Linked DNA regions of Homo sapiens: regions 2, 3, 4, 5, 6 and 7 are each linked to region 1. Evidence: promoter capture Hi-C in 16 types of primary human blood cells and fetal thymus (Javierre and others, 2016). All regions are on one chromosome and are shown on one strand. The core of a region is centred on a gene start or on the middle of the fragment in contact, and the rest is flanking DNA. Distances in the headings are between cores, read along the strand shown. Region 1 holds the start of FNIP2 (folliculin interacting protein 2). Region 2 overlaps RAPGEF2 (Rap guanine nucleotide exchange factor 2). Region 3 overlaps RAPGEF2 (Rap guanine nucleotide exchange factor 2). Region 4 overlaps RAPGEF2 (Rap guanine nucleotide exchange factor 2). Region 5 overlaps RAPGEF2 (Rap guanine nucleotide exchange factor 2). Region 6 overlaps RAPGEF2 (Rap guanine nucleotide exchange factor 2). Region 7 overlaps RAPGEF2 (Rap guanine nucleotide exchange factor 2).

Region 1 (2,961 bases), core at 360-2,859:
GATTTTAGTCTGGAGAATAAAGGACATTTTCTGACCAAGGATGGAGTAAGGAAAGGTGGTGAGTTGCTGGCCACAGTATGACCTGGGACTGTATCTGAAAGTCACAACGTATAAAGCCAATACCTTCTATATAGCATCCTGACCAACACTGGCAGCCCTATGAGGTAAAGGCCTTCAGCAAACAGAAATAGCAAAGTTGCAAATTAGGGTTCTGTGTACACTCAATTGTGCAAAAGGATGATTGCTCATCAGGATAAACACTTAATCCACCATTTTAACAGTAAAAGTCCGAAGGAAACAAATGACTAAGTTTCCATTTCTACCACCTTTCTCTTACCTTTGTGAAATTTCAGCACATTATTCACAGCTAGTTCCCAACCAAGTCCAGAAACTAACACAATTAAAAAAAGAAAATGCAAAGTAAAATAGGCCCAGAATAGGTTCTTTTGATTACTTATGTTTTTGGAAATATATTTTCCTTTTTGAGTCTCCAAGAGTCCTCCTCTCAACAAGTGTAAGAGAGCCCAGGTGAGTCACTGTTCACTACTCATGGAGAAGCTAGAAGAGGCATGGTTGGGGTCTTACTAACTTTATCTCTATTTCCCATCATCGGAAAAATTCGTGAAGCCCAACGCTCTAAAACATAGATTAAGAAGTTGCTTTGAGTCTGGTAACGTGTCCTACACTGGCTGTTTAGAGCCCTGCACCACCAAGGATTAAATTCCAAAGGGGACTGGGGTGGGACAGGGCAGGAAAGCGGACTCAAACACATGAACTCCTCCCTTCCTCAAACCAAATATCTGCTGCTGATATGCCTTGATTGACTGTTAAATATGTATTAGGAAAAACAATCCCTTGCTATAAAATATCTTAAGTTTCTAAATCTATGTAGTGAGTTCTGTGTGTGTGTGTGTGTGTGTGTGTGTGTGTGTGTGTGTATGTTTTAAAGGGGGGACTTAATATTTCAAATGCAACTTCTTATATAACCATGGTATGGTGGCCCAAGACGCCAAACAGAACAAATGATTTGGATAAACAGTTTAAATTTTGTGAAAGCCTGGAGGAATCGAATTTGGACATGGAGGAAACCTGACAAAACCTTGGGTGCTATGTGATTCAAATCACAGCCCACCGAAGCGGCCACCGCGCGTACCAAGCCTTCCCCCCTAGCATACGCCTTCTGTGAACGGGCTCTTGTACCTGAACAAAGCGAGGACCCAAGTTCAGGGGCTTTGTCTCTAAAGAACAAAGATCGGCCTAGCTGCATGCTCGCTGTGCGAAAGAACCCAGGCTCCGTGGGAACCCCACGCCACTCGCGGAGCTGCGCCCCGGCGGCCGCCCTCGCCCCTCGGGCCCCTTTAAGTGCCGCGCCTGCCCCCGTCCGCGTCCCCCGCGTGCCCGGAGTACTGGGCCGCCCGCCCGCTCCTGGCCGCACCTCCCACCTCCCGCCTCCCGCCGGGGTTACGTGAGCCCGGGGCGGGCGGCCGCCGGGCCAATGGCCGCCGCCGGGGCCGCCGCGCTCCTCCCGCGCCGCCGCCGCCGCCGTGGGGCTGCGGGCTCCTCCCGCAGGAGATAACTGTCAGCGCGCGAGGCGGTGGCGGGCCGGCTCAGTCATATGACCGGCAGCCGGCGGCTCCGGCGCCGAGCAGAGTTACTCAGTCGCAGCGGCCCCGCGCTCCCGCAAGGCTGGGCGGCCGCGCCGCCGCGATGGCCCCGCCACCGCGGCCGCCGCCCCCGGCTGCGCGCTGAGCCGCCGGCCCCCCGAGCGCCACGGCCGGAGCTGCGGCGGCGGCATCATGGCCCCGACCCTGCTCCAGAAGCTCTTCAACAAAAGGGGCAGCAGCGGCAGCTCCGCGGCGGCGTCTGCCCAGGGCAGGGCTCCTAAGGAAGGACCCGCCTTTAGGTGAGGGGGCGCCGGGGGGCAATTCTGGCGCGGGACCCGAGTTGGCTTCGGTGCTCGCCGGGGAGGGGACGGGTAGGGGAAAGGGAAGGGACTGTCCAGGACGGCGCTGCCTATCGCCGGCACCTGGTCCCGGGCTTGTCAGCGTGGACGCGCCTGATCCGAGTGTGGCTCCGGACCCTCCGTGACCCTTCCTCCCGCTCTTTCTCCACAACTCAGGGTCCTTCCCCATTTCAGAGTTCTCTTGTGTTCCTTGGGGTTCCCGGGCGTGCGCTGTGCTTGGCTGTGGCGACCGGAGATTCTCCGGTTATTGGGGTGAACCCCTTCCGGGCAGAGCCGCCTGGGCACCTCTGCGGGCCCAGCAAAGCTGTGAGCTGTCATTTTGAGGGCAGCTCCAACCTATTGTGTACGTGACAGTGTTTTGAAGTTCTGAAGGAGCAACAGTCACGAAAAAGGCATCTTTCTTCTTTCTTGCCATATATGACAAGCTCTCAAACGGATGAATGAAAGTATGTAATTTCCACATCATGTGGAAGGTTGATGCCGCATGATGTGTGGAAAGGGGGAGTAAGATGCAATTATGAAATTTCCGAGATTTCAATTGATCAAAGCTGATATGTATATTTAATAGATTTGATCTCTCGAACACATACCTTTGAATATTGATAGCATTTATGGAGAGCTTACTACCTAAAATGCTTTATGTTGATTTCTGTCGTTTACTTTTCTGACAATGCGGTGAGGTGGGTGCTATTATAATTCCCATTTTACAGGTGAGGAAACTTAAAGTCACAGATAACTTAGGCGGCTTGCCCAAAATCCAGCTGTCAGTGGTAGAGCCTGTGTTTTGACCCAAGCAGTTTGACCACAGATTCCAGTCTTTAAAATCCCTATGCTATTCTGATTTCAAGGGCTAACTTTTAAAAGACGCCTTAAAATGTCCTATATTGCCTTTGAGCACAGGTATGTTGAGAAGTTTATTTAACAATTTTTCAACACATTTTAAAATTGAGCACCAACTCCCAATTCTGACACTATGCTAGGTGCTTTTTGGCCAAAAT
Region 2 (2,795 bases), core at 184-2,683, 450 kb after region 1:
TAGTAGTCATGTGGCTACTTCAGGCCACCCAGGATCCTGGGACATGTAGTCTTTTACTCTGCAACGTGATGTGCCCTGCTAAAAATAATAATATAAAAACTATCCTTCTAAGGAGAAAGAGGAAAATGGATATTGGGGCAGGGAACCCACGGTCTCTGTTACACCTGCTGTTCAGTTTTCCCCCTCACTCTCAGAGTGCATTAATTGCCTATGCTTACATTCTACATTGGCTTAGCCACGCTCCTTTAGCTCTTATATCATCTGTAATTCCTATTTGTCCTACTGAAAGTTGACTCAAGTCCTGGTATTCCTGTGACATATATAAGGCAAAGGCTTAAAGATCTTAAGGAAGTGCTGGGAGAGAATTCCAAATAAGGCAAAGAAAATGATGAAACAAATATCAACTTGGTTCAACTAGAGTTGATGATATTGAAGGGAAACTTTAGCTACACTAGTTTTAAGTATATTCTACTTTAAATGTAAAATAAGGTAGGTCTCTAAAGAAGTAAAGTGAAATATGTAAATAGTCACAGTGGTATATATTAAAATATTCCCCCTTCGGATATTAGTCATAATTTCTGCTTCAGTATGAAATACCTTCATCCTGGAACACTAACATGATTTTTAGCATCATTTAGAACCCTCTTTCCTCTTGTACATCATATTCCGATGTGATACCTGATGCACAGAGCAAAGCTGTTCTCTAGAGAGAGAGAGGGTTCAATTGCTGGATCAAGTTGGGAATTTGGTTGCTATAACTACAACATCGCAGATGTGCTGTACATATAAATGCAGGCTTCTGTGGCCTTTGGAACACTGGGATTGGTAGTGTCTTAACACAGTAAGTAGCCGTAAAGAGAAGGACTCATATTTTTTGTGTGTATAGTTGATGGAGTTCCACAGGTCACCTGGTGCTTCACGTGTTCAGTTAGGGCATTGTTTGTGATCCTTGCTATAAATGAGTGTGTGATAGTTCATCCCAGAAGTCCTGGTTGCAGTGATGTTTATATTTCTCTTGAAGAAATAAATAATGCTATATTTCATAAAGATTTTAGAGTCTGATGTTTGTGTCAATGAAACACAGTATTGTTTTTCTCTGGAAAATGTTTCAGTTGGTTACCCACTGCTAAGTGCTAAGGAACTCATAACTCTTGTCTGTGCCCCGGTTGTTTTTGGAGAAGGGATAGAGGGATGTGTGAGTTACTGTTTCACTTGTATGAATTCAGGGTGTATCTTAAAATAACATAGCAGCTAAATTTGTTTTTGTTTAAGAAAGTGTACTCTCTGTATTGGGGTCGCTAACAGAAAATAACAAGAGTAAGAATATGGTTAAAAGAAGGATTGATATGTGAAGGAAATTATACTCTGGGAAATTGGAATGTCATTATTAAGATAAAAATGTCCAATTAATCATAGTTCAGGGACACTTTTATTATGAGTTGAATTATATATATATATATATATTTGAAGACAAGAAAATCATATTTTGAAATGTTGAAGGTGACTTTATTCTGTATTATGTACCCACTTAATTTTTTCCATGTATTGTAAGCTGTTTGACAGTACTCGTTGAAATAATAGTGAAGGAATAGCTTAGATATTTATATTATTGCTTTTTTAAGTGTAAGAATTTAAATGTCATGTGGTTTTTAAAAGGATCTGCAGTTATTTTTTATTACCAATTAGTATTTTGAATTGTGAGTCCAAAATATTTAAAATACTGTCTTAGATGTTTCTTACGGCGTTATAGGGGTTACATATTTTTGCTATTAAATAGAAAATAGAATTTCTGCTATCTAGTGTTCGTGTATTTAGAGAGCTACACGAACATTAAATCACTGTTTTCTTAGTTATACTTCTATCTACTTTATTGAGTCAGATATTTCAAGATAATCTTATCTTTTCTTGATGGCTTACCTTTTCATGTTTTACAACTAGAAATTGCTTAGAATGTAAGTGTAATTTCCTTAAGATAACTTTGCTATTAATTAAACATTTTCAGATAGTTTTAAAAATGAGGGCAATGGTTAAAATTTGTCAAACACATTGTTGTGTTTTATTATTATTTTATGGTTCATTAGGGTAAATTTAGAAAACAGTCATTAGGCAGACTTAATTCAGTTTTACACACAGAAAAACCTCAAGTTAAGAAATTCCATTTCATTAGGCTAAATCAGATACATTTTAGGATGAACGTGTATATACTCTAGCGTATACGTATCAGAGACATATATGTTTGCCTCTCTTCTTGCCATGATGGATATAGTCCAAGATAATAATTTAGTTATTACTCAGAATCGTGAGACCATTTCTGTTTACCTCTTTTCATCTTATCTTGAATTTTAACTTACATAATTTTGGGAACACAACTAAAGAGTTGGCTTTGAATAAGATATTCCAGATTTTATAGCCATTATCCCATTTAAGTGAACTTTTTTTTTTTTTGAGACAGAGTCTCGCTCTGCCACCCAGCCTGGAGTGCAGTGGTGTGATCTTGTCTCACTGCAACCTCCACCTCTCAGGCTCAAGTGATTCTTGTGCCTCGGCCTCCTGAGTAGCTGGAATTACGGTCATGTGCCACCACTCCCGACTAATTTTTGTATTTTTTGTAAAGATGGGGTTTTGCCATGTTGGCCAGGCTGGTCTTGAACTCCTAGCCTGAAGTGGTCCGCCTGCCTTGGCCTCCCAAAGTGCTGGGATTACAGGCATGAACTACCACGCCTGACCCCATTTAAGTGAACTTCTAAAATCCCTTATGTATAGGAAATTTTGTGTTTGAAAGCATCATTGTGGCT
Region 3 (3,117 bases), core at 347-2,846, 510 kb after region 1:
TGTGTCTTATTTGTTATAACAAATAAAATTTGAAATAGCTTAGCTAAAGAAAATATAAACACAGGTGACAACATTTCTTCTCCCTTTGCACTGTATATAGTGAACCTTTTATCACTAAAATCTTTTAATGTGTTCATTTTAGTTGGGCATATTCCCAGATTTCTTTACCGTTCATTGTCCTTATTTCCCCTCTGAAAAAAATGAGCAACCTGATGTAAATGAGAATTAAAGCATGTCTGTTGAACATCCTCACAAAAGTTCATTAGTAGTGATATTAAGAAGTTTTTTCAAAAAAAAAAGGAAATATGGATAACTTTAAAATGTCTTCTAGCTGTTTCTCAGAGCAAGACTAGTTAGGGACTATCTTTTTTTAATTATTATTATACTTTAAGTTGTAGTGTACATGTGCACAACGTGCAGGTTTGTTACATATGTATACATGTGTCATATTGGTGTGCTGCACCCATTAACTCATCATTTACATTAGGTATATCTCCTAATGCTATCCCTCCCCCCTCCCCCTACCCCACTACAGGCCCAGTTGTGTGATGTTCCCTATCCTGTGTCCAAGTGTTCTCATTGTTCAATTCCCACCTATGAGTGAGAACATGCAGTGTTTGGTTTTCTGTCCTTGTGATAGTTTGCTGAGAATGATGGTTTCCAGCTTCATCCATGTCCCTACAAAGGACATGAACTCATCATTTTTTATGGCTACATAGTATTCCATGGTGTATATGTGCCACATTTTCTTAATCCAGTCTATCATTGATGGACATTTGGGTTGGTTCCAAGTCTTTGCTATTGTGAGTAGTGCCACAATTAACATACGTGTGCATGTGTCTTTATAGCAGCATATGATTTATAATCCTTTGGGTATATACCCAGTAATGGGATTGCTGGCTCAAATGGTATTTCTAGTTCTGGATCCCTGAGGAATCGCCACACTGACTTCCACAATGGTTGAACTAGTTTACAGTCCCACCAACAGTGTAAAAGTGTTCCTGTTTCTCCACATCCTCTCCAGCACCTGTTGTTTCCTGACTTTTTAATGATTGCCATTCTAACTGGCGTAAGATGGTATCTCATTGTGGTTTTGATTTGTGTTTCTCTGATGGCCAGTGATGGTGAGCATTTTTTCACATATCTGTTGGCTGCATAAATGTCTTCTTTTGTGAAGTGTCTGTTCATATCCTTTGCCCGCTTTTTTATGGGGTTGTTTGATTTTTTCTTGTAAATTTGTTTAGTTCTTTGTAGATTCTGGATATTAGCCCTTTGTCAGATGGATAGATTGCAAAAATTTTCTCCCGTTCTGTAGGTTGCCTGTTCACTCTGATGGTAGTTTCTTTTGCTGTGCAGAAGCTCGTTAGTTTAATTAGATCCCATTTGTTTAATTAGATCCCATTTGTCAATTTTTGCTTTTGTTGCCATTGCTTTTGGTGTTTTAGTCATGAAGTCCTTGCCGATGCCTATGTCCTGAATGGTATTGCCTAGGTTTTCTTCTAGGGTTTTTATAGTTTTAGGTCTAACATTTAAGTCTTTAATCCATCTCCAATTAATTTTTGTATAAGGTGTAAGGAAGGGATCCAGTTTCAGTTTTCTACATATGGTTAGCCAGTTTTCCCAGTACCATCTGTTAAATAGGGAATTCTTTCTCCATTTCTTGTTTTTGTCAGGTTTGTCAAAGATTAGATGGTTGTAGATGTGTGGTATTATTTCTGAGGGCACATCAGAGTCATCTGGAAGTCCTAGAACACAGGGTTTGAAGAAACCCAGGATAGAATGGGGTTGAAGATGACCTGCTCCCACATTGGTTTAAATACTCTACTCTTATAATTTATATGATTTTATCATTCCTACCCCTAAGGAACCTGAGTACTGAAATATATTGAAATAACTACTCAGGGTTCCACAGGAGCTCTCGAAATTTAGCAGTGGGTGGAAGGCGGGAATCTGACTTAGAAGTGAAACTGCTGCTAGTAACCCATCTATAAAAATAACCCAAGTTAGGAAATAGTTAGTACATGTGATTATGAAAACTATAATCTGGCCAGTTGTGACCTTTGTGAAGAAAGTTACGTAAAGAGAAGGGATTAGTAAGAGCTGTAGCATTGTGGTCAGAAAACTCCAGAACCAGTAACTTGGATTTACAATCTGGCTTCATCACTCATTCGCTGTGTGACCCTGGCTGTGTGGTCTTTTAACATGGAATCTTCATTTGTAAAATGGAGGTAATACGGTTGTGTGAAGATTAAATGAGGTAAAACCTATAAAGTACTTAGAATAATACACAACCCATAAATACAATTCTTATATTTTTGTAGGAAGTTTTTATCCACACTATCCAGGAGGTAAGGAAAATTAAACCTGTTACACACGTGAGGCAGAGACAGTACACTTGAGTACACTTGATGTTTCCCTTTCCTTTAGGTGACTGTCCTTAAGTTGGTTTGCCTTTTCCATCCCCTACGGTTCCATACTCAGCAGCAACCTTCTTTTTACTAGTTCATTATTAGAGTGAAAAAACAACAGTAATGATATCATTAGTTAAAATGGAAGGCTCCCTTTGTTCCAGGCAGTGTTCGAAACTCTTCATTTATGATCTCATTGAATCCTCACAATAATGTAAGAGTGCTGCCTCCACATACTAAAGAAATCAGGACATAGAGAGGTAAAGTAACTTTCTCACAGTCACAAGCTAACGCCTGGTGGAGCCATTGGCAGGTTTTTCTTGTACGTGCAGATGCATGCGCACGCACAGGTCTATTTGGGGAAGCTGCATGAAACACCTTCCTTTGTACATAGGTTAAAGGATGGACAATTCCTTTTGTTTTCAGTGTGTCCTGTGGATTATAATTCTAATCAGAAAGTCCTCGAACAGTTTATTCCTCCCTCAACATTTAGAAGTGATTTTCTTTCAAGTAAGTTTCAAAGGGCTTTCATAAGTGCCATGTCGTAACTGCTACCATCCCTGACATAAAATGTAGAGTAACTTTACCTTGATCTCAATGGAAATAAAAGCAGTATATTTTATTGTTCCTCAGTCTTAGCCAGAATTGCAAGAATACAATTTTGTTTTGAAGAACTACTCTTTAACTCTTTATATCCACATCCACATTT
Region 4 (2,952 bases), core at 248-2,747, 390 kb after region 1:
GGTGCCTGGGGGTGTACTTCTAATTTTGGTTGTTTAAAATACTTGTTTTATTTGACATTTCAGAGTTATAGTAGAAGTTTATAATATTTTCTTCTTAAAGGAGATAAATATTAACTAGAAGGTTTTAATGATTTTTATTCTTAAGAGGGCCTGCATTGTATTTTTGCCAAAAGTAAAAAGAGGCAATAGTCCTCTTAATTTCCTTCAACTTCACTCCCCAACCAGCAATAAATTCCAGGAACTGCATGCAGATCAGTGATCCTTTATCTTTCATTGTTCTCCTTATGTGGGAAAGCATTATTACTTAGGTGTAAATGTAGATTGTAGTTGAACAAAAAGCAAAGGAAGACATATCCCTTTCCTTTGGCTCTCCTTTTTGTGTCTTGAGTCTAAAAGGACTTTAAGATTATCTAGTTAATCTCCAGTCTCCCAACAGGCAGTACCTAAACCATCTTTGTTGAGAGCACTTGTAAGGTTATCAGAGGTCATTAAAAAATTTCCTACCCAAATCTCTCTGCTTTTAAATAGCTAACACCTTTCCTTTACAGAGTTCCTTTATTGAACATTTTGTGTAAATATTCTCTTTGTGGGCAGGGAGAAGTAGGTAATTACCAGTAGCAACCCTTGGTGGTCGCAAACAAAAAAAAAGTTCAGAGATGACTATAGTCACCTATTCAGGAGAGCATCCAGAGTATGTTGGCACACAAAACCAAGTCTTTTTAATTTATGCAATTTGCTCAATATTAATTGAATCAACTGAGAAGGGTGAAATTTTACTAGCGTTATTTGCCAGGTTGGACCTTGGAACCTGAAGGAACCAGAAATTATCATTGACAACCTCGCTAGAGGCCCTTACTCAAGTTTCACTCTTATTTGGGTTTTTTGGAGACTGGCTAATCCCCCTTTTCTTTAAAATTGAAACAATAGCCGTAGCTGTATAAGGGCTAGCGTTTAAGTGTTTTATAATCTCACTTTATTTGGTCTTAACGGCAACACTATAAAGTGTAGGTATGATCCTTAATTTTTATATGGTGAAATGAAAGCTTAGAGATATTTAAGTAACTGTCCCAGAATCTTACAGCAATAAGTAGCAAAGTTAGGATTTCGACTGGGTCTGATGCCAAAATACTTCCCTCAGTTGTTTTCCTCTGCCACCTCTGTGGTTTGCAGCGCCCGTCCACAGTGTCTCCCTCAGCCCCTTTCCTGGATCACGCAGCTGTTTATTTTGCATCACCCTCCTTCCATTTTACAAACAACAAGTTGTACCCTCAGATTCCACTGTTAGGCAAATATGGTTGGACATCACTATTCTCTTAGGAAAAATGTGTTGCTTCAATCTGTATGGAGAAAATTCTTTTATTTTGATTTAAGTACATATAGTGGGATCAACCTATAGATGTTTTCAAGAAAACTGAGTGTAGTGTTGTTCCAAGAAAATTCTTTTATTTTGATTTAAGTACATATAGTGGGATCAACCTATAGATGTTTTCAAGAAAACTGAGTGTAGTGTTGTTCCAAGAAAATTCTTTTATTTTGATTTAAGTACATATAGTGGGATCAACCTATAGATGTTTTCAAGAAAACTGAGTGTAGTGTTGTTCCAAGAGGTCTCTTAAAAAGAGTATTTCAGAATCGTCTGACCACTGAAAAATTATTCATACACATATTACAGCAAATTAAATTTTAGTGACTTTTTCTCAGCATTCAAGATTATAATAACAATTCTACAACTTGACCTCTTCATTAGAAATGTGGAAGTGATTTAAACTGACAGTGTGAACAATAGTGTTCTCAACTCGTATAGCAGCATCCTATTTATAGATGGAAGCAGCTGCATCCTTTTTCTTTATTTAGGAGGAATACTATTGTTCTCAGATCATCAGGTGGATGATCCTGTGGGGAAAATGTGATTGAGCCAATTATAACACAGGTATTATTGATCTCCCTCCAATCAAGCTTTTATTCATCTATATGGAAAAAAACCCACATTTAAACTCTAATAGCTAAGTATGAAATGTGATGCTGAATTCATATTAATTGGACACTTACATAGTTGTTTTAGTCTAATGAGATTATTTCATCAAGAAGCTATCTTTGTTCAACATTTCTAGTTGTGCAAAGGCTTTAGTCTGTTACGTATACTATAGACACATGTCTATTCACATTTAAAATTGTAGTTATTTTATGAAATGTACCTTTTACTGATTCCCATTCTTTCCTATCAACAACTGATAGTTGTGCTTTTATATAAAATGTTAATAATATCTGATACTTACAGAAAGCCAGGCACTGTGCTTTATATTTTGCCTGTTTTATCTTACTTAATTCTCTCCCAACCCAGTGAAGAACATGTTTTCTCACATTATACAGATGAGGACAGTTGATATACTTTGCCTAAGGTCATACATTACACAGTAAATGCTAGAACTGAAGCTTCAAACCCATCTGTTTCTGATTTTAAATCCTCACTCATGTAACATGGATATTGTTGGCAGTGTTGGGACTATGGCTAGAAAGTGTTTGTTTCACTTATTTCAATAGCAAACTTCAGTAGCAATTTGAAGAAAGTCAACTTCAAACTAACTGCATTGCCTGCGCACAGAGCTTAGACCAGAGTTAGGTATGTATCTTTAACATGATATTCAGTATATCTTTTTCTGTATGTAGCAAACTATATGGATGAAGATCTGTTACTTTGTGCCTTAAAATAACGACTCCAAAAGGAAGTGGATTTGATTTAAGTGAATTTGTAGTGCATGCTCTATTCACCTATTCCTGTACATCATTTTTTTTTCTCTTCCACAATGAAATTTTTTGAGTACGATGTAGGAAATCATCTTAAAGTGGAGTGTACTTACCCACATCAGGGTTTAAAAGGTAAAATTTCTTCTATAGCTTTGTCTATATTACATTTTTACCCTTCCATTTGAAACTAATTAGAAATATTAGTGA
Region 5 (3,221 bases), core at 55-2,554, 470 kb after region 1:
CTAAGTGTTTGGTTTTTGTACTTTGTAATTCAATCTATAATAATGCCATTTAATTGAAATTTGGGGAGAATCTCTTGATTGCAGGATTTTAGCTCTCCAAGTGTTGATTGGAATGAGTGACTTACTTTAAATCAATCACTAGGTTTGCTGGTGTGAGAACAATTTTGGAATCTAAACATGCCTCCATTGTGAGCAATCGTGAGGAATAACCAAATGGAACTTGTGTTCACTGTTAATTCATTCATTAGAGTTTCTAAGATGTTTTAAATGAGGAATTATTTTTTAAACAACACTATTTTAAAAAACACAAGAAAATCACTTGAATTTTTTCAAGTTATTAAAAGGAAATTTGGGGATTATTATGCTGGTTAAACACTCTGTTGACATCTTTTCCCTCTTTTTAATGTAATTTTGTGACAAAAATTTATAAACAGAGATTATACATAGAACATATTGTTAAAATAGATATTAGCAACATACTTTGAAGCTTAAAAACCAAACCTGTCATACTTTTTACTTACTGTATAAGAATGATTTTAAGATAGGATAATATGTACCCTTTAAAAAATTTAGTAACAAAAATAAGATGAGGTGGAAGGGGAGTTTCCCAGCCTAGACATTCAGTTGATATTCTTACTGTCTCCATCCAGCACCCTAGCTGGGAAGGAAGATCTTGTAAAGTAAATGATGTCTAAATAAAGATGATGATGGAAACTTTTATTCACATTTAGTAAAGTATTTAGTAAACAATTCTAGGTCTCTTTTCAGAGAAGATGTAGGGTTTTTCCCTATGATGTAGGAGAGGAATTCTGTCAGAAATGAGAACTTCCTCATCAAAGCTAGCGAACTTTTTGTAAAATTTACTAAAATATTTGGTAAAGTTTTACAAAACGTACTCAAGTGAGAAAGTAGCATAGTAATGGTAAGGATTTAGGATTGGGAAGAATGTAGGCAGATATATAGCACTTTCCAACAGTAGATAGTCTTAGATATTTCCTTGAGATTTTGCCCTCTGTTAATGCTACTTTTAGATTTCTCTGGAGGATTTTTAGTCTTTAAAACTGAGTATTTTATACTTGCTGATACTACACAAACTACTAGGTTTGCTGGTGTGAGAACAGTTTTGTAACCTAGACATGCCTCCATTATGAGAAGTCACATGAGGAATAACCTAATGTAACTTTTATTCCCTGTTCATTCATCAGCATTTCTACTTTTTTTTTTTTTTTTTTTGGAGACGGAGTCTTGTCGTGTTGTCTAGCTTGAAGTGCAGTGGCGCGATCTCAGCTCACTGCAACCTCCACCTCCTGGGTTCAAGCAATTCTCCTGCCTCAGCCTCCCGGGTAGCTGGGATTACAGGCACGTGCCACCACACCCAGCTACTTTTTTGTATCTTTAGCAGAGATGGGGTTTCACCATGTTGGCCAGGCTGGTCTTGAACTCCTGACCTCGTGATCCACCCGCCTCGGCCTCCCAAAGTGCTGGGATTACAGGCGTGAGCAACTGTGCCTGGCCTAAAATTTTTTTAAATGAGGAATTACTTTTAAACAACACTATTTATAAAAAAAGAAACCGAAGTCATGGAATGAAAGTAGAAGGAGAAACCCTTGCGTAACCTACCAAAGCCATTCTGTTAGCACTGTTTTTGAGTCATTCAGGATTTGGAAGTTTTTACAGATTTCCATCAGGGTTTTTTTTTTTTTTTTTTTCTTTTTTCTACGTTGCTTAAGACAGTGTGGCAGTTGCTTTCATAATGTGTGGTAATGTATCCTGTGAGATCTTTCACTAATAAATCAGTACAAAGACTGCTGAAAATATCCTTCCCTTTGAAACTACAGGAAATTCAAGAGTTACCCATATTGTCCTAAGTGGAACTGAAAATGCCTCCTCATAAAAGAAATGTTACTCAAAACCAGTTAGTTCCAGAGAAGTTCAGAGACACTTGAAGTTTGTCTAGATAGTTTTCTACAGATGTCTTTGCAAGATGATTGAATATGGGTTATCTGTAAGTTTCTTTCTGTATCTAATATTAATAGGAAATGTTGTGTTTGGAGAAATGAAATTTTGGGGGGTTTTATTTCAGGTGGACTATATGGATGAAAATGAAGAATATTTTCAGCGGCAAGCTTCCCATAGACAGTCTCGAAGGAGATTTAGAAAAATCAACCAGAAAGGTGAAAGACAAACAATTATTGACACTGTGGATCCTTATCCCATGGGCAAACCTCCTTTGCCTAGAGGCTATCACACGGTAAGTTATACAAGTATAATATTTTTATTTATTTCTAGTTTTTTGTTGGGGTTTTGTGAAAAGATGTTTAAGTTTTCCATTTTTGACAAATCTTTTCAATTATATATATATACACACACATTAAGTATACTTAAATATTTATTTTTATTTGTTATATTAATAAATATAAAAATAAATATATAATATGTATATATTATTTAAACATTTATTATAGAAAGAGTAGATTTTTCTGGGAAACATGATATGATTAGTTTTTAAAAGACATTGAAATAACATGTCAACAGACTTTGCTAGCTCCTTTATTTCTTAAGTTGTTCTCTGAAGATCAGCTTTGTGATAAGCACATGTAATTGTAATTGGAATATTTTAAGTTGTTTTACCTTAATCTAACATTTTAGCGCCCTCCTGTGCACTCCACCCTTCACTCCCAACCCAAATGACTGCTGTCATCCCTGTTTTTTATTTTAAAAGTAGATATGTAAAAATTACATTATTTTTCATAGCTTTTTATACCTTTATGAGAATATCTCTGAGATTTATTTTTTAATGCAGTGAAGGAGGAATAATTTGAAATAATGCTTTTTAAAATCTCAATGTAAAGATGCTTAGAAATATTTCTAATAGGTTCAAAGATCCTCTTAAAGGCAGGCAGACATAACCCAGTTCATTGTCATTTATTTCATAAATATTGATAAATAAACTGCTTTTTATGTTTGAGGAAACCAAGACATAGATAATGAGTGCTTTGTTCAAGATCTCAATAAAGTCACTTTAAAGCCTTTTTTTTCTTATTCCTTTGTTTTTTCAAGAGCAAAGTCGCTTAGATTCCTGGATATGTCATAATAATGTGAAAGATCATTTATGCATATAATACCATTAAATGAGTGGTTATTTTATGTATAATTAATTTAAAATAAAAATATAAAAAATAAAAATAGATAATTAACAACTATTTTACATTCCCCAGTTG
Region 6 (2,866 bases), core at 119-2,618, 410 kb after region 1:
GTGTACAAGCAGCAAAGAGTCTATACAGGATAGGAGGGATTGCACCAGCATATGGTATGGGCAGGCAGTCAGGAGAGGAGGTGGAGAAATATTAATCTGCTCTCAGTTCTCCAAAGATCATATTACGACATACTGTACATTGTTAGTGAGATCTTGATGCTGCAAACAAATGAAACTAAAAGCTAGTTGTAAGTGAATTGTAAGTTTGCTATGAAGCCCGTTATATATTCTGAATGAGTCTCTAAGGAGAAATTAGAGAGCCCAGGATGTGGGGTACTCTCCCTCTGACTTCTTTCCCATTAGCATGTATTATGCTTTTTTTTTTTTTTTTTTTTTTTTGAGACGGAGTCTCGCTCTGTCACCCAGGCTTGAGTGCTGCCGCGCGATTTTAGCTCACTGCAACCTCCACCTCCCGGGTTCAAGCGATTCTCCTGCCTCAGCCCCCCAAGTAGCTGGGCTTACAGGTGCACACTACCACGCCCGGCTAGTTTTTGTATTTTTAGTAGAGACGGGGGTTTCTCCATGTTAGCCAGGCTGGTCTTGAGCTCCTGACCTCAGGCAATTCACCCGCCTCGGCTTCCCAAAGTGCTGGGATTACAGGCGTGAGCCACCACGCCTGACCTAGCATGTATTATGTTAACAGACTTTGAGCAAGAGGATTGACTTGGATAGGTTGTGAACAATCACCCCCCTAAAGTACTTAAAGGATGCTTTTGGGTTTTGAATCTGGTTTACATTTGGGACAAAAAAAGGGAAAGCTTTATTGGTTTATCAATATCTTTGTCCAATGTGCTACCATGGTTTTATAACTTCAGTCTACTTTCAAGTAGCATCTATTTTGAAAAAAGGATGTCCTTCCTAGGGTAAAACGAAAGACTTATTGTTCTAAAAAATGCTGCTTCCTGGTTAAAGCAACATGTTCCTGTTTGTGCTCAATGACTAGAGAATTTGGGGGAAAAAATAGCTTACTTTTTTTTCAGAGTCCTTTAAAATAGTAGTAGTCATGTGAATTTCATTTGTCTTGGGAAGTGCAGTTGGGAAGGTTAGAAATTTTTCAGTTTGTGTGTCATAGTTTTTTGACCAAAATGGAAATTGAGACACTCTAGGTAATTTAACTCTCCAGCATTATTTTTCTATAGTTGTTGGTTGAAATTTCCTTCTATGAATGTTTCTTGTTTGCATAGAGAAAAAAAGAATCTAAAAGTGTAACTCCCTGAAGGCCATACATTTCTTTGTGCATCTTAAGAGAAAAGTCTTGCTCTGTGATGCTACATATTTAGTTTTCACTAATGGTTGCACATTTCAGGTTGGTTTGAGGAGCGGGACTTCTCAGCACCCCATTCTTACTCACTTGCCTTTCTGTTTTTTTGCTGGTAGAGGCAATTCCATGCCAACTAATTATTTTAAGAAAAGCCAACAACTAAGGGGAAATGAAGGTTGAAACTTCTGTGTGAGAAGTGAAGGAGGAGAAATAGGAGTGACCACTATGGGCAGGAAAGGAGTGGGGGTAGCTCCTGGGCAGGGCAGAGCTGGATTGTTTTGCAGTGGCCTTTCATGCCCTAAATCTCCTCCCTTACAACTCCTGGTAGATTTCATTTCTCTTGGTTGTGCTGCCTGAAATCTCATACCACTTAGAGGTTTGTTTGGACTATGGAAGTACAAATGCCGACAGACAGTTCATGTGCAAGTTTTAAGGGTTCCTATTGAATGTGTTCAGATTGCCTGCCTTTAATTCTTAGACCAGGGCATAGTGAGCCGATATGGGGCTTGGGTAATGTGAGGTCTCGACACCTGGTGAGAAGGTAGAAAAAATTGATAGGAAGATTAGAAATGAAAGGCAATGTGTGCCTATTTCAAGACATTGCTTAGTCCCGCTTGCTTTTAGGAAAGGATAAGAAAACTTGTCTTCCGTTTTCCTTTTTGTTGTTTATGCGATCTGTGGTAACTAATATTTGGCTGCTGACCTCCTGATTGAAGAAAAGCTTAAACACAGATTGCTTCTTCCTTTAATTTGCATGTCTTTTGCTTATCTCTAGTAAACTTTCTTTCATTTTTCGGGGTCTGAGAGCAGAGATTTCTTGATGTCTTTGCCATAGTTTCTCTTTTTTTTCCTACATACCCAAATCCACGTTGGTCAAGTTCATATTACGTAGTGAAACATTACTTATGTGTTGCCTGCCACTCCTGTTAATACAACTAAGAAGTCTCAAGTTTACATGGAGTCTATCTGTAAAGCCACCTAACTGCATCTATAATAGCAGAATAATGTAGTCTTTTCCCCTAGTTTATAGGCTCCTTGTGGCACAGACCGTTTAAAACAAGTTTCATGTGGGATGATGTACTGTAAGAGCAATAGAAGAAACCCTGAATGTAATTGAATTTATTTAAGAAGTTTATAGTCTGGTTTGATATATAAAATACAAAATGAAGCAGTTACTACACAGGGTTTTCTGGTTGTATACTGCTTGAATAATGACACGTTTGAAAGTACCCCCTAAAAATCATGATTATATGGATATGAATGTTTTATTTATGCAGGTACATATAGAAAGAAAAACTGCTTTTTAAGTTTGTTCATGCAGTAAGGTGTAATGTCTATTTCCCAGTTTTATGATACAGGCTCAGTAACAATTTCCTGATTGATTTACTTATGTCAGTGAATTATAGGTGATAATATTCCATTCTTTACATTTTTATTAACTAATCAACAATCTTATTTAATTTGTATGTTATAATTAAGATAAAGAAATAATGGTTATTATTCAAAGTATACATTCATATTCAAAATTGTTAAATCCATGTATATCATACTAACACACATAATGTGTATGACGTAATTTGTATAAGAGCGTGGCCCTTATACAAC
Region 7 (2,867 bases), core at 349-2,848, 440 kb after region 1:
TCATCTGATCCGATTTACCTGAGCAAATGATCACTGAAATGTTTCCCAGCTTCTACTAGGCATGATGCGCAGTTCCTGCCTTGAAAGGAAGTTCATTGTAGTTGGAAGAAGATGCTCAGGAATAAGAAATCATTACAGAAAAACATAAAACAATGAAATTAGATGGGCTAAGTATTTTAGAGTTTGGAAAACAGTGAGTGAGAAGATTTTCTTAAAGTAGTAGTTTTTGAGCCATCTCTTAAGGTACAGTGGGATGTAGAGGGTAGATGGAGAGAGGTAAACATCTTGAACAGCATGGCAGAGTTGGAATGAACAGAAGGAAAGCAGCCTGTCAGGAGCAGCAGGTTATGTTGAGGGGTAGTAGGAAGGAAGGTGGGAGAGGTGAGGGGGTCAGATCAAGTATTTCCCTCATGCCCATTATTCTTTGTTTAGACTTGGGATAATGCTCAGCGGGGATCATACAGTTCTGATTGCCCCAGAGGCTTTCTATCTGTTTACATTGGAAGGTGAACTGATCATTTTATAATGGTCTGTATTTGGTTTTGTTTGGCCTCGTTAATTTCCTTCCTGTTGATGAAAAACAGAAACAGGAGCCTTTTAGAGTTTCTCGTTATAAACCAGGGCTTTTGTGACTTCCGTTTTGTCCATTGTGGGATGAGATGTATTGAAATGAAATCAGTTGTCCATTGTGGTTCCTAGCTCAAGATCCTGTGGTCAAATTCTGAGATTCTAAGAAGGATTTGGTCTTCTGTAAGCGTGAATTCCCCTGATTAGAGAGACTCGCAAGTACTGCTTTCCTATACGAACCTCTTTAGTCTTCAGATTTCTGTTTTTTGCCCAGTACTGGTAGTGTCAGGTTATTTGGAAATCCTCAGTCAGGGTTCTTTCAGGATTAAGCTTTGGCATTTCAGCAACACTTGAAGGGGCTCCTTTGCTCATAATTTTAAAAAAAAATTATTTGAGGAAAAATTAAAATAGCACTGATTAATACAATGTATGTACCTAGTTGCATGGATATTAATAGAGTTGTACTTTTTTTCCTGCCATTTGTTCCTCTTGGGAGTTCATATTGAGACCATTTTTTCTGAAAGTTTTTCAGAGTTGGCCAGCCCCATGTGTAAGAAACATCCAGGATATTTGTTTAAAAGTCACTTTGATGGATCTCCTATCTAATGATCAGAAACTGGGGAATTGGGTGGGATAGATGCATTTTAAATTAACATCTTAGGTGATTCATTTGCACATCAGGGCCTGAGAACTACTAGATAGAATAGAATCTCAGTGTTAGTCTTAGATATTTATTATTATTACTACCACTACACTTACTTCTTGTCTTACAATGTGGTTACATCCCAATAAACCCACTATATGTTGAAAACATCCTAAGTCAAAATGCAGTTAACGTACCTAGCCTACTGAACATCATTGCTTAGCCTAATGATATGGTTAGGCTCTGTGTCCCCACCCAAATCTCATGTCAAATTGTTGTGCCATTGGGGGAGGGACCTAGTGGGAGGTGATTGGATCATGGGGGCAGATTTCCCCTATGCTGTTCTCATGATAGTGGATGAGTGTTCATGAGATCTGGTGGTTTAAACATGTGTAGCACTTCCCTCTTTGCTTTCTTTTCTGCTCCACCATGGTAAAACATGCTTGCTTCCCCTTCGCCTTCCCCCATGATTGTAAGTTTCCTGAGGTGTCCCCAGTCATGCTTCCTGTACAGCCTGCGGAACTGTGAGCCAGTTAAACCTCTTTTCAAGTTACCCAGTCCCAGGTAGTTCTTTATAGCAGTGTGAGAACCGACACATACACTTAGGCTACTGTAAACATGCTCAGAACACTTACATTAGCCTACAGTTGGGCAGGATCTTTTTTTTTTTTTGAGACAGAGTGTCGCCCTGTCACCCAGGCTGGAGTGCAGTGGTGCAATCTTGGCCTCACTGCAAGCTCCGCCTCCCGGGTTCACGCCATTCTCCTGCCTCAGCCTCCCGAGTAGCTGGGACTACTGGCACCGCCACCATGCCCGGCTAATTTTTTTTGCATTTTTAGTAAAGACGGGGTTTCACCGTGTTAGCCAGGATGGTCTCGATCTCCTGACCTCGTGATCCACCCACCTCTGCCTTCCGAAGTGCTGGGATGACAGGCATGAGCCACCGCGCCCAGCCGCGCAGGATCTTTTAACACAAAGCCTATATTATAACAAACTGTTGAGTACCTCATGTAATTTATTGGATATTCTATTGAAAATGAAAAGCAGAATCGTTGTGGTGCTGGAAGTTGAGTGTGTCGTAAAGACAAAAAAGCTTGTCAGACCATTGGAAGTTGGGCACCGTCTGTACTATTATTATTATTGTCAGTCTTCTCTTAACCAGCTTCATTGCCTGGAAGTGAGGTCTCAATTTGCATATCCTTTAAGTACTGAACAATTTGCTGCTGCTACTACTAAGTACTATTTTCATAATTTCAGTTTCATTTTTCTTAAAAAAACCATCACTTTCCCATTTTTACATACACATGTAAAAACCCTCCAGTGACAGCTAGCTGCACTGTGGAAAGGAAGTGTTTGCAGACCTTGAAGGGAAGCACGTTGTACCCCACACGGAAACTCTGCCTGCCTGAGGCATGATTGTAAGTGAAAAGAGTAAGCGTGGTTAGTTCAGTGCTTTCTAATAAAGTAAGGGGAATTTTCTAGACTAGTAAGACTAAATAAAACATATTTCGATGCTGACACCTCAGCAAGGAATTTTCATAACAGGAACTAAACATGAATTCTATGGGGGATGGATAGGAGGAGAGGAGAGGGGTTTTTCTAGCTTACAACTATTTCCAGAACATCTGTAAAATAAGAGTCACTGTTTTTTGTATTC

Evidence for each region. The method cuts DNA at HindIII sites, captures the fragments that hold promoters and counts their contacts. A CHiCAGO score of 5 or more calls a contact.
Region 2: a fragment that was not itself captured here is called in contact with the fragment with the promoter of FNIP2 in region 1 in 1 of 17 cell types (erythroblasts); the score reaches 6.4 in erythroblasts.
Region 3: a fragment that was not itself captured here is called in contact with the fragment with the promoter of FNIP2 in region 1 in 2 of 17 cell types (erythroblasts and M2 macrophages); the score reaches 7.1 in erythroblasts.
Region 4: a contact is called between a fragment that was not itself captured here and the fragment with the promoter of FNIP2 in region 1, in 14 of 17 cell types (total B cells, naive CD4 T cells, fetal thymus and 11 more). The highest score is 15.7, in total B cells.
Region 5: a contact is called between a fragment that was not itself captured here and the fragment with the promoter of FNIP2 in region 1, in 7 of 17 cell types (M2 macrophages, erythroblasts, M1 macrophages and 4 more). The highest score is 8.8, in M2 macrophages.
Region 6: a contact is called between a fragment that was not itself captured here and the fragment with the promoter of FNIP2 in region 1, in 17 of 17 cell types (naive CD4 T cells, activated CD4 T cells, non-activated CD4 T cells and 14 more). The highest score is 24.8, in naive CD4 T cells.
Region 7: a contact is called between a fragment that was not itself captured here and the fragment with the promoter of FNIP2 in region 1, in 14 of 17 cell types (fetal thymus, activated CD4 T cells, naive CD8 T cells and 11 more). The highest score is 13.8, in fetal thymus.

What each region holds. Positions count from the first base shown.
Region 1 is chr4:158,767,417-158,770,377 of GRCh38, forward strand. FNIP2 (folliculin interacting protein 2) reads left to right here and starts at 1,610. Exons shown (of 17, transcript NM_020840.3): 1 at 1,610-1,903. The coding sequence starts at 1,797. RefSeq lists a silencer at 1,351-1,560 and an enhancer at 1,518-2,255. The HindIII fragment of the contact is 6,862 bases long and covers 1-2,961 here.
Region 2 is chr4:159,221,472-159,224,266 of GRCh38, forward strand. The region is part of intron 4 of RAPGEF2 (Rap guanine nucleotide exchange factor 2); the gene reads left to right. Among named protein-coding and RNA genes, the nearest start is that of MIR3688-1, 94 kb to the left of the region's middle. The HindIII fragment of the contact is 8,955 bases long and covers 1-2,795 here.
Region 3 is chr4:159,276,558-159,279,674 of GRCh38, forward strand. The region is part of intron 7 of RAPGEF2 (Rap guanine nucleotide exchange factor 2); the gene reads left to right. Among named protein-coding and RNA genes, the nearest start is that of MIR3688-1, 150 kb to the left of the region's middle. The HindIII fragment of the contact is 7,495 bases long and covers 1-3,117 here.
Region 4 is chr4:159,158,002-159,160,953 of GRCh38, forward strand. The region is part of intron 1 of RAPGEF2 (Rap guanine nucleotide exchange factor 2); the gene reads left to right. Among named protein-coding and RNA genes, the nearest start is that of MIR3688-1, 31 kb to the left of the region's middle. The HindIII fragment of the contact is 913 bases long and covers 1,042-1,954 here.
Region 5 is chr4:159,239,118-159,242,338 of GRCh38, forward strand. RAPGEF2 (Rap guanine nucleotide exchange factor 2) reads left to right here. Exons shown (of 30, transcript NM_001394067.2): 6 at 2,084-2,251. Among named protein-coding and RNA genes, the nearest start is that of MIR3688-1, 110 kb to the left of the region's middle. The HindIII fragment of the contact is 1,639 bases long and covers 486-2,124 here.
Region 6 is chr4:159,178,237-159,181,102 of GRCh38, forward strand. The region is part of intron 1 of RAPGEF2 (Rap guanine nucleotide exchange factor 2); the gene reads left to right. Among named protein-coding and RNA genes, the nearest start is that of MIR3688-1, 51 kb to the left of the region's middle. The HindIII fragment of the contact is 1,224 bases long and covers 757-1,980 here.
Region 7 is chr4:159,204,065-159,206,931 of GRCh38, forward strand. All of the region lies in intron 3 of RAPGEF2 (Rap guanine nucleotide exchange factor 2), which reads left to right. Among named protein-coding and RNA genes, the nearest start is that of MIR3688-1, 77 kb to the left of the region's middle. The HindIII fragment of the contact is 1,406 bases long and covers 896-2,301 here.